Linked DNA regions of Homo sapiens: all the other regions are linked to region 1. The links are contacts of gene promoters, found by promoter capture Hi-C in blood cells and fetal thymus (Javierre and others, 2016). All regions are on one chromosome and are shown on one strand. Each heading gives the region's core, a stretch centred on a gene start or on the middle of the fragment in contact. The rest is flanking DNA. Distances are from core to core; before and after follow the strand shown. Region 1 holds the start of LINC01594 (long intergenic non-protein coding RNA 1594). Region 2 holds the start of LIMS1 (LIM zinc finger domain containing 1). Region 3 overlaps LIMS1 (LIM zinc finger domain containing 1).

Region 1 (3,843 bases), core at 389-2,888:
GGCCCATGGTTAGAATGCATTAAGGGTGAGATATATTTTTTAAGCTGCCATGAGGTTGGAAAAAAGGCCATGATTCTCTGCATTTTCTTATTTTGACGTTGGTGCAATAATGTTGAAATTATTTGCAATTCAGTGTGAGGTACTCATGGCAGTACACGGCGATGGGTGGAAGTATGTTAGTTGAACATTATTATAATATTCGTAAGAATTTAAGCCCATTATTTTCTTGTCTGGTACCTAATTGGACTGCATTTAATTTATTTCTTCATCAATAAGCACTCATATATTATTTCTTGGTTATTTTATTGTTGTCAGTACTGACAACACAATTTACAAAACTTTAAAAATTACATTTAAATAGAAACTTCATTGTTACTTTAAAGACTCATATAATAAATGATAGTCTTCCAGTTTCCATTCAATTCATCAGACGTTTATTAAGCAGCTACCTTGGACCAGATACTGTTCCAAGTTTTTCAGTTTCATCAGTGTTTTACATAGATAGATAGATAGATAGATAGATAGATAGATAGATAGATAGATAGATATAAAATCTGTGCCAATGAGCTGTAATTTTAGCCATAATCTTGGACAAGAAAGTAGTGAATTTATTTCCTTTAAGGACGTGTATTTGTAACTCATTTTTATGCTGTGTCTTTGTGCTGATGATATTTTGCAGTTGTCACAGTGACTTATGAAAAATTCTAAGGGGGAATCAGGCTAGCTCCCTAAGAATCACACTTTTAAACTCATGGTTTTAAAAAGTCTGGCCATTAAGTGCAATGATTAAGGTTAAATTTGTGTACCTTTTACCCAAGAGGTCAAAAGTCAGATTGTCTTCAGAGTCTCACTAATGAACAGCACATTCAATTCATTATGGTGAAAGATGCTTGAATTTTGACCACCACCCCGTCTTTAGACTATTTAGTGTCACTATAAAGGAATAGCTGAGGCTGGGAAATTTATTTTAAAAAATGTTTATTTGGCTCATAATTCTGATGGCTGGAAGACTGGACACGTGGTGAGGGACTCAGACTGCTTCCACTTCTGGCAGAAGGTGAAGGGGGTCAGTGCATCCAAAAATCACATGGTAAGACAGGAAGCAAGAGAAGGGAGTTTCCAGGCTCTTTTTAACAACCAACTCTTGTGGGAAGGAATAGAGCAAGAGCTCACTCACTCCTGGGGAGGGTATTAATCTATTCCTGAGGGGTCTCCCACTATCACCCAAACACCTTCTGTTAGACCCCACCTCCAACATTTAGAATCAGATCTCAACATAAGGTTTGGAAGGGACAAATGTCCAAACCATGGCAATCTCTTTCCCAGGGAATACTCATCCTGTATATTTTTCCATGTGAGATCCAACCATAACCTAGGCATCTCTTGTGAGAAAACAATGCTGGTAGAATTCTGAGATTCAGTCCACTGGATACCTGTGGGAGGCCTTGAATGTTGCCTTTGTAAATCATCTCTAGTTCTGGCCATGTGATTGTTGGGCAATGGGCAGAGGCTGAGAATGGTCTTCCTGGAGCCTCCAATTTAGTGAGCAAAGTGTAGAGTATGTTAGAAGAGATGATACTTGTGATGGAAATGATTAGGGCAGAATAAGGGGAACCAGGAAGTGCTGGATTGTAAGTAGAATGATCAGGGAAGACATGACTGAAATGATGCTTTCTGGGTAAAGATTGAAGGATATGAGGAGAGGGTCATGTAGCTGTTTGATCGAAGAGCATTCTTGGCAGAGGAAATGCCAGGCCAAAGTCTCTATGGCAGGACTACACTAGGTGAGTTCAAGGAAGAGTGGGGAAGTCACTAGGTCTGAAGAGAAGTGAGTGTGCAAAGGTTAGAAGGTGGTTAGAAAGGGACCTGGGGACAGATGGTGTAGGACAGGAGACCGTGATACAATTCAGCTTAGACTGAATGGGTTGGGGCACTGCTGCAGCATTTTGATCAGCACAGTGATGTGATCCATTTAGGATCATATGGTGACTGGGTAATTATGACATAGAAGGAGGGATATTCATTAGGTTGTGATTGCAAGTCTTCAGGGAAGACACGCCAGTGACTCAGAGGAGGTTGGTCACAGTAATGTTGATAAGAAGAGGTCATGTTCTGGATATAGTTTGAAGTCAGAGCCAAATGATGTATGGATTGGATGTAGTGTGCAAGAGAGAGAGAAATAGAATAAGCTTTGGCTGAGCAACTGAAAAGATGGAGTTGCCTTTTAATTGAGATGAAGAAGACAGTGGGTGAATTAGGTTTGTGGGTTTGACTTTTTCTGTTTGAAATGTATATAAAACAAGGAAGTAGAGATATGAAGTAGGCAGTTGGGCTGACAATTTAGGAATTCAGGGTTGAGATCTGAGGTGGAGATAAAAATTTGGAAGATGGTACCATGTTGCAGAAATTTAAAATCCATGTGAGAGAATGAGATTATCTAAGAAGCGAGCCAGAGAAAGAAGAGATAGAAAGCAGAAGTAACATAAAAGCTGTAATACTATTTAAGCCTTTTTCTCTGTTTTTATGATGTTTCTTTTATAAGGATTATTTTTAAAATTTCTTTGCCACATTATTCTAATGAGTCCACTGTCTAGTTTTACGAAAACACATAATAATGTTCCTCAATATCTATATTTCACTATGCCACTCGACCTACCCAGCATTTAAAGGTGCACTTGAGTGTTTATGAAACGTTCTTTTAATCTCCTGCTATATAAAAAGGAAAAAGTCAAAAATATTAACAGCTGATGGACAAAGAAATAAATTACGTATTTGCATGTGGAAATAATAAAGCAACTTAGAACTAAATCACAAAGTTATCTGGGAAGGACATTGAATGTTTTATTGTAAATCTTTAACATAACTCAAAAATTAGTAGTAGTATTGGAGAACATGCAAACCTCATGTTAGTTTACATTTCAAAATCAATTATTCATGTCAGAAACATGTTCAAATTTCTGTGAAAGTTTAGAAGATATGTATCACAAATAAAAGCATTTCAAATGCTCACACAGGATTTTTGGGAGAGAGGAGAGAGAAACCACATTAATTTAAACAAGAAAAGTTTAATACAGAGAATGATTAACTCTAACAAGAGATTGGAGTAACGAGGTGTTGGCAAGTAAGAAGTAAAACTCTGAAGAATATAGGAATATCAAATATAAGGAACAGCCACTATCCCTAGGGCTGAGATAGAGTAAGAGCCTCTTCGAAAAGAACCTGTCTTCCCATGCCCACCAGGACTGAGACCCAGACCTTATGGGAGAGGACGTGGCATGACTCATGGGACAACAGAGAAGCTACTGCGGTTCAATTCTGGAAGAACTTGCTCTACTCTCTGAAACTTGCAGGAAATCCACCCTCTAGGGTGTGGGGAAGGTGTTCACAAGGATGTGTCTCCCTGGAGGCATCCTACTACAAAACCATCCTGGGAGGAAGCTGGGGAAGCACTGGACACCCCCACTGCAGGAGCTGAACCCTGGGGAAGCCATGTGTGCTGCAGGAGTGGGACCTAGAGGAGCTGGCACAGTGGAGAAGAACCACGGGAGCCTGGCCAGTGAAAACCCTGAACCAGGAAGCAAAACTCTTTCCTCCCACAATGTCTCTCCAGTGCTCTCTGCTGACAAGGTTTCAACATCACAGCAGCTGGCAAAGGAAAAATATTGAAAGGGTTCAGATTCAGTTTCGCAGAGAGGGCAGACAGTGAATTTGGACTGAGAAGCAATCAATCGATTACTGGACAGCATGGAAAAATTCGTATGAGTTTGTGTAGTTTTATAAAATTATCAGAGTCTATCAAAAACACATTTTAAAAGTCACACACATCGTTAAATACCAGAGCAT
Region 2 (4,159 bases), core at 810-3,309, 320 kb before region 1:
CCTGAATGTCCTTCAAACATGTGAACAGTTAAACTGCTGTACATCCATACCATGGAGCACTACTGAGCAACAAAAAGGAACAAACTATGACATGCACAACAAATAGCGTATGATTCCACTTACATGAGATATGAGGTACCAGCAGTAGTCAAAGTCATAGACAGAAATTAAAATGATGGCTGCCAGGGACTGGCGGGAGGAGGGGAATGGAGAATTATTGTTTAATAGGTACAGAGTTTCAGTTTTGTAAGATAAAGATTTCTGGACATGTATGATGGTTACGGATGCACAATAATTTGAATGAACTTATTACTCTCCCTCCAAAAAGTAAATTACTAATGGTAAATTCAGGATGGGAAGGGGATAGGATGCGGAGAGACACTGGACCAGAGAGGTTTGAAGGTCTTAAAAGGAAACTATTATCTCCTTTATTACACTACATATCCGTTATTCTTAATATCTCACAAATACTTTAAATTTTATATCAACTTACTAGTCAATACTTTTTTTTAAGGAAAAAAGTCCATGATGAAGGAGTACAAATTATTGTTATCAAATCTTGAGCTTTGACTCTTTTTTGTTACTTGTGACCAAATGGCAGGCGTGCACTTCTGTAATAGAGCGATGAGCTGAATTAACTTGCTTGTGTCATGAAATACCATTTTTACGGGAAAGAACAACTGACAAACTAGGGTTATTTAAACCTGTATTGCCGGACACTTCCTTGAAACTGAACAAAGTGAGTCTGTCACTTTGAGGAAAACAATTGACAATATTTTGCTCCCAATGATAAAAAGCAAGCTTTCAACCGAAAATGAGAATTTTGGAAAACTTGTAAACACCACCTTGTATCTGACGGCTTTTAACATAAAGACTTTCCTAATGAAATCAATAGCGATGGTAACGAATGTTATTCGGCGCTATTAATGAAATGCGTCAGCTTGAGATCTGCCAAACTCAGTGAGCCAATATCTTCCAAACGACAAATATATGGTGTTACAATGGGTAACAGCTGCATTCAAACTGCAAGACAGACCAAGGAATTTTAACGTAACTGTGTGCAAAGGCCACTGACAGGAGCTTTAGCTGCATTCAAACTGCAAGACAGACCAAGGAATTTTAACGAAACTGTGTGAAAAGTCCGCTGACAGTAGCTTCAGATTCCACGTCCAAACCAGCCTTTGAGAAACTTCCACTTACGTAGTTTTGGTGTAGTAATAAAGAATACCCATAATTATCTGAAACAGCTATTAAGACAGTACTCACTTTTCCAACTACACATCTGTGTAAGATCAGATTTTCTTCATATAAAAACATACCGCAACAGACTGAACTGCAAAGGAGATGGGAGAACGTAGTTGTCTCTACTAAGTCAGACAACTCAAGAGATTCGCAAACTGTAAAGGACGCCAGTCGTCCCACGAACTCTTTTGTTTTAGCAAAACCCTATGTTGCATAAAAATGTGGTATGTACGTTAACATACCACGGATTTATTCAATGAGTTAATAGTAACTTCAGTGTCTCGGTTTTCCTTTCTAGTACAGTCTATGGAGATAGCCACCATTCCAGGTCCTCTAGTCCCAAGAGGGGTCCTGAGACCAAGACGTCTGCGACCCGCTGATCCCTACTGCTAGAAGATAAATGATTAGCTCGGCAAATACTGATTTGTCTTATGGAACTCTCGGAGCAGCGGGGCGGCGTCAGCGCCTGTGCCACCGCGGACACCCGGGAGTGAACAGCAGCCGTCTCCTCCGCGGGCCCGGACGCAGCCACGCCGCCACCCGAGCGCTGGGGGTCGGGGCTCCGGCCGACCGGGGGAGGCCGCGGGGAAAGCCCGGCCGCCCGCCCGCGCCAGGCCCGGCCCGGCCCGGCCCGAAGGCCCGCCGGGAGCTGCGGGGCGGACGTGGCGGGGGCCGCGCGGTGCGGCCCGTACCTGTGGGTCATCCCGGCCGCCACGCCCAGCATCTCTCCGCTTTCGGCCGCCGCCGTCTCTCAGCCCCTCGTCTCCCGGCGCCGCTCCAGCCGCGTCCTAGTCCCTCGCCGCCGCGGCCGGCTACTGGCGGGCCCGGAGCAGGAAGGGGAGGAAGGCCAGGGGCCGGCCGCGCGGGGGCGCGGGAGGGGGGGGAAGGCGAGGCGGGCCGCGCGGGAAGGCGGGGGAGGGGCGGGAGCGGCTGGGCAAGGAGGGGCGGGGACTGGCGGGGCGGGCGCCGAAGGGCGCGGACTGGAGAGGTAGGCGCGGGGGGGCGGGGCGTTGCGGGGCGGGGCGCGCATCAGACCCCGCCCCAACCCGTGGCTCGGGCCCGCCCCCATTTCAGCACCCCAGGCTAGTCTGGGAGGCTGGCGCAAACGCAGCGGGTGGCTGGGGTAGGGGCTCATTGGGAGCCCACGGAGCGCGGCGGCGGCTCGGGGGCCGAGTTCCCTACAACAAGGATGGCGGTGACGGGCGCAGGGAGCGGGGCCCGGCTCTCCTTGCCTCGAGGCTCCTCTGATTCCACTCGCGTGGCTGCGCGGCCCTGGCAGCGGCCTTCGTCCCGGGGGTGGGAGCTACACAGGGTTCCGCCCCGTCCTGGCGAGGACGCCTGAGGGGGCTCTGTGGTAAGGCTCTGTCGGGCAGGCCGGGCTTCCGGGAGGACCTGGTCTGGATCGGTCACCGCTGGGTGCCTGAGCTCCGCATGGAGCCTGCAGCCTTTGTTTAACTTGTGAGTTAAGAAAAGTTAACCTTTCTTGGAGAGTTTCCAGTCTTGCCTCTGCATCCTGTTCTTCCTTGCTAGCTCTCATTTTCTTCACCCATTCCGTCTATCAAAACCTGAAATTTTGGGGCCGGCGCAGTGGCTCACGCCTGTAATCCCAGCACTTTGGGAGGCTGAGGCAGGCGGATCACCTGAGGTCAGGAGTTCGAGACCAGCCTGACCAACATGGAGAAACCCCGTCTCTACTAAAAATACAAAATTAGCCGGGCGTGGTGGTGGCACATGCCTGTAATCCCAGCTACTCGAGAGGCTGAGGCAGGAGAATCGCTTGAACTTGGGAGGCGGAGCTTGTGGTGAGCTGGGAGATCGCGCCACTGCACTCCAGCCTAGGTAACAGGCTCCGTCCCAAAAAAAAAAAAAAAAAAAAGTGAAATCTCCAAAGGATTTAATAGATTTAATAGATAAGACAAGTTATTCATCCTGGGCATAAATGATCTCTCTCAGGATACCTGATTCTGTAACTATAGCTACTCTCTAGTAATAGAATGAAAACTTTGGTCTCCTGCCAGTCGAGGCATGTCGGAGGAAAACACTGGATCTATTTGATGTCCTCACATGAAAGTAAATTCCAAACAAAGCAAATAGTTAAATGTTCAAAAAACAAAAAAAAAAAAAAAAAAAAAGAGAGAGGTTATGAAAATACCAGAAGAAAACAAGGGAAAAAAACAAAAGTAAGGTTGGAGTGGTGAGAGACTTTTCAAAGAGCATATAAACCATAAAATTAAAAATTGATAAATGTAGGCCGGGCACGGTGACTCACGCGTGTAATCCCAGCACTTGGAGAGGCTGAGGTGAGTGGATCACCTGAGGTCAGGAGTTTGAGACCAGCCTGACCAACATGGTGAAACCCCGTCTCTAATAAAAATACAAAAATTTCACCGGTTGTGGTGGCGGGGTTCCTGTAATCCCAGCTACTTGGGAGGCTGAGGCAGGAGAATTACTTGAACCTGGGAGACAGAGGTTGCAGTGAGCCGAGATCGCGCCATTGCAGTCCAGCCTGGGCGACAGAGCAAGACTCTGTCTCTAAATAAATAAATAAAAATTGATAAATGTAACTACATAGAAATCTAAATTTTCTGCATAGCAAATAAATATAACAAACCCCAACCAAGAAAAATATTTGTAAAATGTATGACAAAAAGTTCTAAATTATTAAAAAAGTTCTAATTATTAAAAAAATCAGTACAAAAATGTTCAACTCAGAGAAAAACAGGTTTCTACAGAAAAATACAAATGATTTCTTAAAGTATCATAAAACAAAAATAAAATACAATTTTTCACAAATGCAAAGATGAAAAGTTTGACTATATATTGTTTTGATGAGGATATAGGGAAACCCTTTTTTCCTCCCCTAGAGGAGGCCTCTCTATGTTACCCACACTGGTCTTGAACTCTTGGACTTCAACTA
Region 3 (4,293 bases), core at 969-3,468, 360 kb before region 1:
AAATCTGAGGAACAATACAATTTTAAAGAGTTTATTTGAGTAAGAAGCAATTCATGAATTGGGGAACACCAGACGAAAAAAGTTTTAGTGTCCCAATGACAAAAAGTCAGAGACAAGTATTTACTGGGAAACGTAGAAGCAAAATAAAGAAATTATTTGATTGATTTGAAATTACAGAATTGCCTTTTTTTAGGTACCTTGTTGGAAAGCCCCTAGTCACTTAGTCATATGTTAGTTGGCAGCTTACGACTGGCGGGGGTTAAGTTTTACTTCTAACATAAACATTTATCAAAATGACTCTACTTGTTCTGCTTATGTCTGCAATTTAAGCAAGGCTGAGGTAACATATAAGGCCTAACTGGTTTTGTGCGCTCAGAGATTTCACAGGCCTGGTCTTCATTTTAACTTCCTTTAACAATACTCATTCCAAAACCCACTCAGACCCAAACCTGCCTAAGGTAGGGAAGCAGAAGGAAGCACGTTACAAATTCCATGGCAATACGGTGAGAAGATTTCAGCAGCCCAGGGACACAAAAAGAGAGTAACAACCTTGGCAGAGGCCACGATGCTGGAGTGAGAGGGCCCTGATGGCAGAGCTGGAACCCCACAAGTAATTTAATGGGGAAGTGTTGTTCATACCCAAGTGTTCTTAAATTAAATGTGGTCTGCTTAGATACTCCAACTTATTACTTCATAACTGAATGAAAGCCCCATCCCCCTCCTGAAACTCTCTCTCCTCCATGCAAGGGACCACTATGAACACAATGGTTCTAGTCCAAGCGAGAAACCTGAGAGTCATCTTCAACAACTTAATCATCCTCACACACCTCCCAATGTCCAGCTGCAAAGTCCTTTCTTCTCTGCCTCTTAACTGTTTCTGAATCGATTTACTACTTTATATCTGTACAGGCTGCATCTACTTCTGGCACCATCACCTCCTATGTGGATTAATGCAACAGCCTTGTAACTGGCCTCTGAACATCCCTCTTTCCTAATCACTGTTCCCAAACCACCTCTTCTCTGAGCTACCGTAACACTGCCTTCTGGGTGGTCATGTCATCCACATGGGTACCCATGTCGTCCACTCTCTGTTTCAGGTAACAGATCTAGTTGTCCTGACCACCTAACAGTCACCTACCTTGATTGACTAGGCATGGTGCTTCTTCCTATCCTCTGGCCACAATGACTGGTCCTGGTCCATTTGGACTATGGACTTGAACTAAGTTAATCAGATACTATTTCTCAAAGACTAGAAATCTGAGTAGAGACTAACACCCTGCAGTTAGAGGAAGTCAACTCAGAGCACTGCTCTATAGAGACATCCCACAAGTTCTGCAGAGACACCGGGAAAGCCCTAGTTGTTTGCCCTTCTCAGAGACCTGTAAGTTCAGCCCATTCTTCAATTCTGGGAGCAACCCCAGTATTTTTCCAGTAAATTTCTTTGAAGCTTCTGTTTGCCTGAGTCTATTCCTGTTGTTGATAATCAAGGAAACTACAGTGCCAGTAAAAACGGACCTGGCTGTCCTTGCTCCCACCCGGCATCCCCCAGCTCCAGCCCTCACTGCACAGGCTGCAGCCCTGCGGATCTGCCTGTCACATCTCAACAGCCCTCCTGGCCTGGTGCCTCTTGCCTTCCTCCCTAAACTCTTCTTGGGATGATTCCCATTCACACTCGGACTCAGTCAAGAGGTCGCTTCCTCTGGGAAGTTCTCCGGAAGGCCCTCTTGCTCCACAGGAATTTGCCTGTGTCCTTTAGTCTGACCTCAAGTTACAAGTGATGATTCCTGTTCACAGCTGTGCCCCATGCCAGTCATGCCTGGCAGAGGGCAGGCTCGCTGTGAATACTGTCAAACAAATGAGCAAATGAGGAAATCAGAAACACTTCAAATGAGTATTCAGGGAAGTGTAACACAAGTTTAAAAATAAATGTATTTCTCTGGAATCAAGAGACTCTAGGCATCCAATATTAAATTCATTGTATTTTAATATTAATTCATAGTCCAAATCATTTGACCATGCTTTTGCTTTGTGAAAATTCCTAAGTTGTGCACTTAAGATTTTTGCACTCTTGTGTATTACATATTAATAAAATTTTTAAAAACACATTTAACATCACTGAAAACCATAGATACAGACTAGTAATAAGTTCATATGCTTGGAAACATTATATAGTGGTAGAAGGTACACTGAGTACAAGTAAAATTATAGTCTTAATCATGCCACTTACTATAAGAGCTGTGACATCTTGGTTCGATAAAAATTCTTTATATTCAGCTTTAATATCCATAAAATAACATAATTACCATTTTGTCCAAATCTCAGGGCTACAGAATAGATTTTTTAAAATTATAAAGGTGAAAATTCAAATATAAGTTGTTTTTGTTACAAAATTTGGAATCATCTCAAAATGAATGTTAGTTAAACCAGTCAAAAAAAATTGGACTTTGGAAAACACAACACTTTGGCATGAAACTGCCTACAAAATCCCATGAATGCATACCAAAAAGTGATATAGGATAATGAATCCAGGATGCTAACCTGAAATTTAAGACTAAATTTATTCTTGAGGAACAAAAAAATGATATCCCTACATCATCATTTTTCTTTGTAAACTAGATTTAAAAATTATTTACATTTCATGACCAGGAGCAATGGCTCACGCCTGTAATCCCAGCACTTTGGGAGGCTGAGGCAGACAGATCACGAGGTCAGGAGATTGAGACCATCCTGGCTAACACAGTGAAACCCCATCTCTACTAAAAATACAAAAAAATTAGCCAGGCGTGGTGGTGGGCACCTGTAGTCCCAGCTACTTGGGAGGCTGAGGCAGGAGAATGGCGTGAACCTGGGAGGTGGAGCTTGCAGTGAGCTGAGATCGTGCCACTGCATTCTAGCCTGGGCCACAGTGAGAGACTCCGTCTCCAAAAAAAAAAAAAAAAAAAAAAATTATTTACATTCCATGAACTAAGACAAACATTTCTTAAGCTTATGATAACGGAAATGCTTTTAAGAGTTCAGCTAAGGCATTAACCTTCTGGCTGCAGTAATCTCAGAGAAGGGGGTGGAGGAAAGTGCAGATATTCCTTATTTCATATGGTGGAGATATTATAACATTTAAAACTACTTCAAAATAAGTGCTTGCATTTAAAGAGAGTATAACAAAATATGAAAGGATGTAGAGATTAAAAATATATGAAACACATCTTTACATATACACATGCTAATAAGCTCTTAAAAATAATTGAATGATAAAATGAACCATAATTAGAAATGGTGACTAACAGGCAATTTTATTGTATACCTCTCTATAGTATCAAAACATACAGGCTGGGCGCGGTGGCTCATGCCTGTAATCCCAGCACTTTGGGAGGCCAAGGCGGGTGGATCACGAGGTCAGGAGTTCGAGACCAGCCTGGCCAAGATGGTGAAACCCCATCTCTACTAAAAAATACAAAAATTAGCCAGGCGCAGTGGCGGACATCTATAATCCCAGCTACTCGGGAGGCTGAGGCAGGAGAATCACTTGAACCTGGGAGGTGAAGGTTGCAGTGAGCCGAGACTGTGCCACTGCACTCTAGATCGGGCGACAGAACAAGACAAGACTCCGTCTCAAAAAACAAAACAAAACAAAACAAAACATACAATCTCAGAATAGCATTTAACAGTCACACGGTAAGAGGAGAGAACAGATGGGCAAGACTTTATTTCTCAGAAAAAATAGATTTTCATTTTTTAACTGCTGAGCCAAAATACTTTATTAAGTTCCCAGAAATGCTAAACAGCTTTGTAAGAACATCTGAAGCACCTTTTTTCTCTCTCTCTTAAAAAATAAAGTACTACAATATAGATTCATGTTTGTTAAGAATGTAAAATACATTTTAAGAATGTAAAAACATTTAGTTATTGTAAAAATTAACTTTTGAGCAAATGCAAGTGTTAACCTACCCTTACCCACTCTGTACCATTAAAATAGGGGTAAGTAGAAAACAAATACATACACATTGAAAACTTCCATTTTCATTTCAGTGAATATTTACCCAATGACTACCATATCACTAACTGCTATAGGTACGGGGCACATAAGGATAACTAAGGCAGAGCCCGGAGTAACTTCCTAGACTGCGATGTACACACAAAACATATTGCAATATTCTGTCGTGACACAGCAGAGGCAGCATCTGCAAAGCGCTGCGAAATGCAGCAGCAGCAAGAAAGGCCTAGGCCTTACCGGGTTCATCACGGAAGTGAGTCTGTATTAGCTGTGGTTCACGAAGTGGGAGAGGGAAAGGGAAT

What was found. Contacts are between HindIII fragments. The CHiCAGO score rates a contact against its expected background, and 5 or more counts as called.
Region 2: the fragment with the promoter of LIMS1 here is called in contact with the fragment with the promoter of LINC01594 in region 1 in 3 of 17 cell types (M2 macrophages, M0 macrophages and M1 macrophages); the score reaches 7.8 in M2 macrophages.
Region 3: a contact is called between a fragment that was not itself captured here and the fragment with the promoter of LINC01594 in region 1, in 3 of 17 cell types (M0 macrophages, megakaryocytes and M1 macrophages). The highest score is 10.8, in M0 macrophages.

Annotation. Positions count from the first base shown.
Region 1 is chr2:108,215,636-108,219,478 of GRCh38, reverse strand. LINC01594 (long intergenic non-protein coding RNA 1594) reads left to right here and starts at 1,638. Exons shown (of 5, transcript NR_131251.1): 1 at 1,638-1,784. The HindIII fragment of the contact is 2,331 bases long and covers 1-2,191 here.
Region 2 is chr2:108,532,370-108,536,528 of GRCh38, reverse strand. It overlaps LIMS1 (LIM zinc finger domain containing 1), which reads right to left and starts at 2,059. Exons shown (of 10, transcript NM_001193483.3): 1 at 1,935-2,059. The coding sequence starts at 1,966. GCC2-AS1 (GCC2 antisense RNA 1) reads left to right here and starts at 2,310. Exons shown (of 3, transcript NR_135290.1): 1 at 2,310-2,700. RefSeq lists silencers at 1,814-2,413, 2,902-3,196. The HindIII fragment of the contact is 7,547 bases long and covers 804-4,159 here.
Region 3 is chr2:108,577,241-108,581,533 of GRCh38, reverse strand. All of the region lies in intron 1 of LIMS1 (LIM zinc finger domain containing 1), which reads right to left. Among named protein-coding and RNA genes, the nearest start is that of LIMS1, 45 kb to the right of the region's middle. The HindIII fragment of the contact is 1,538 bases long and covers 1,450-2,987 here.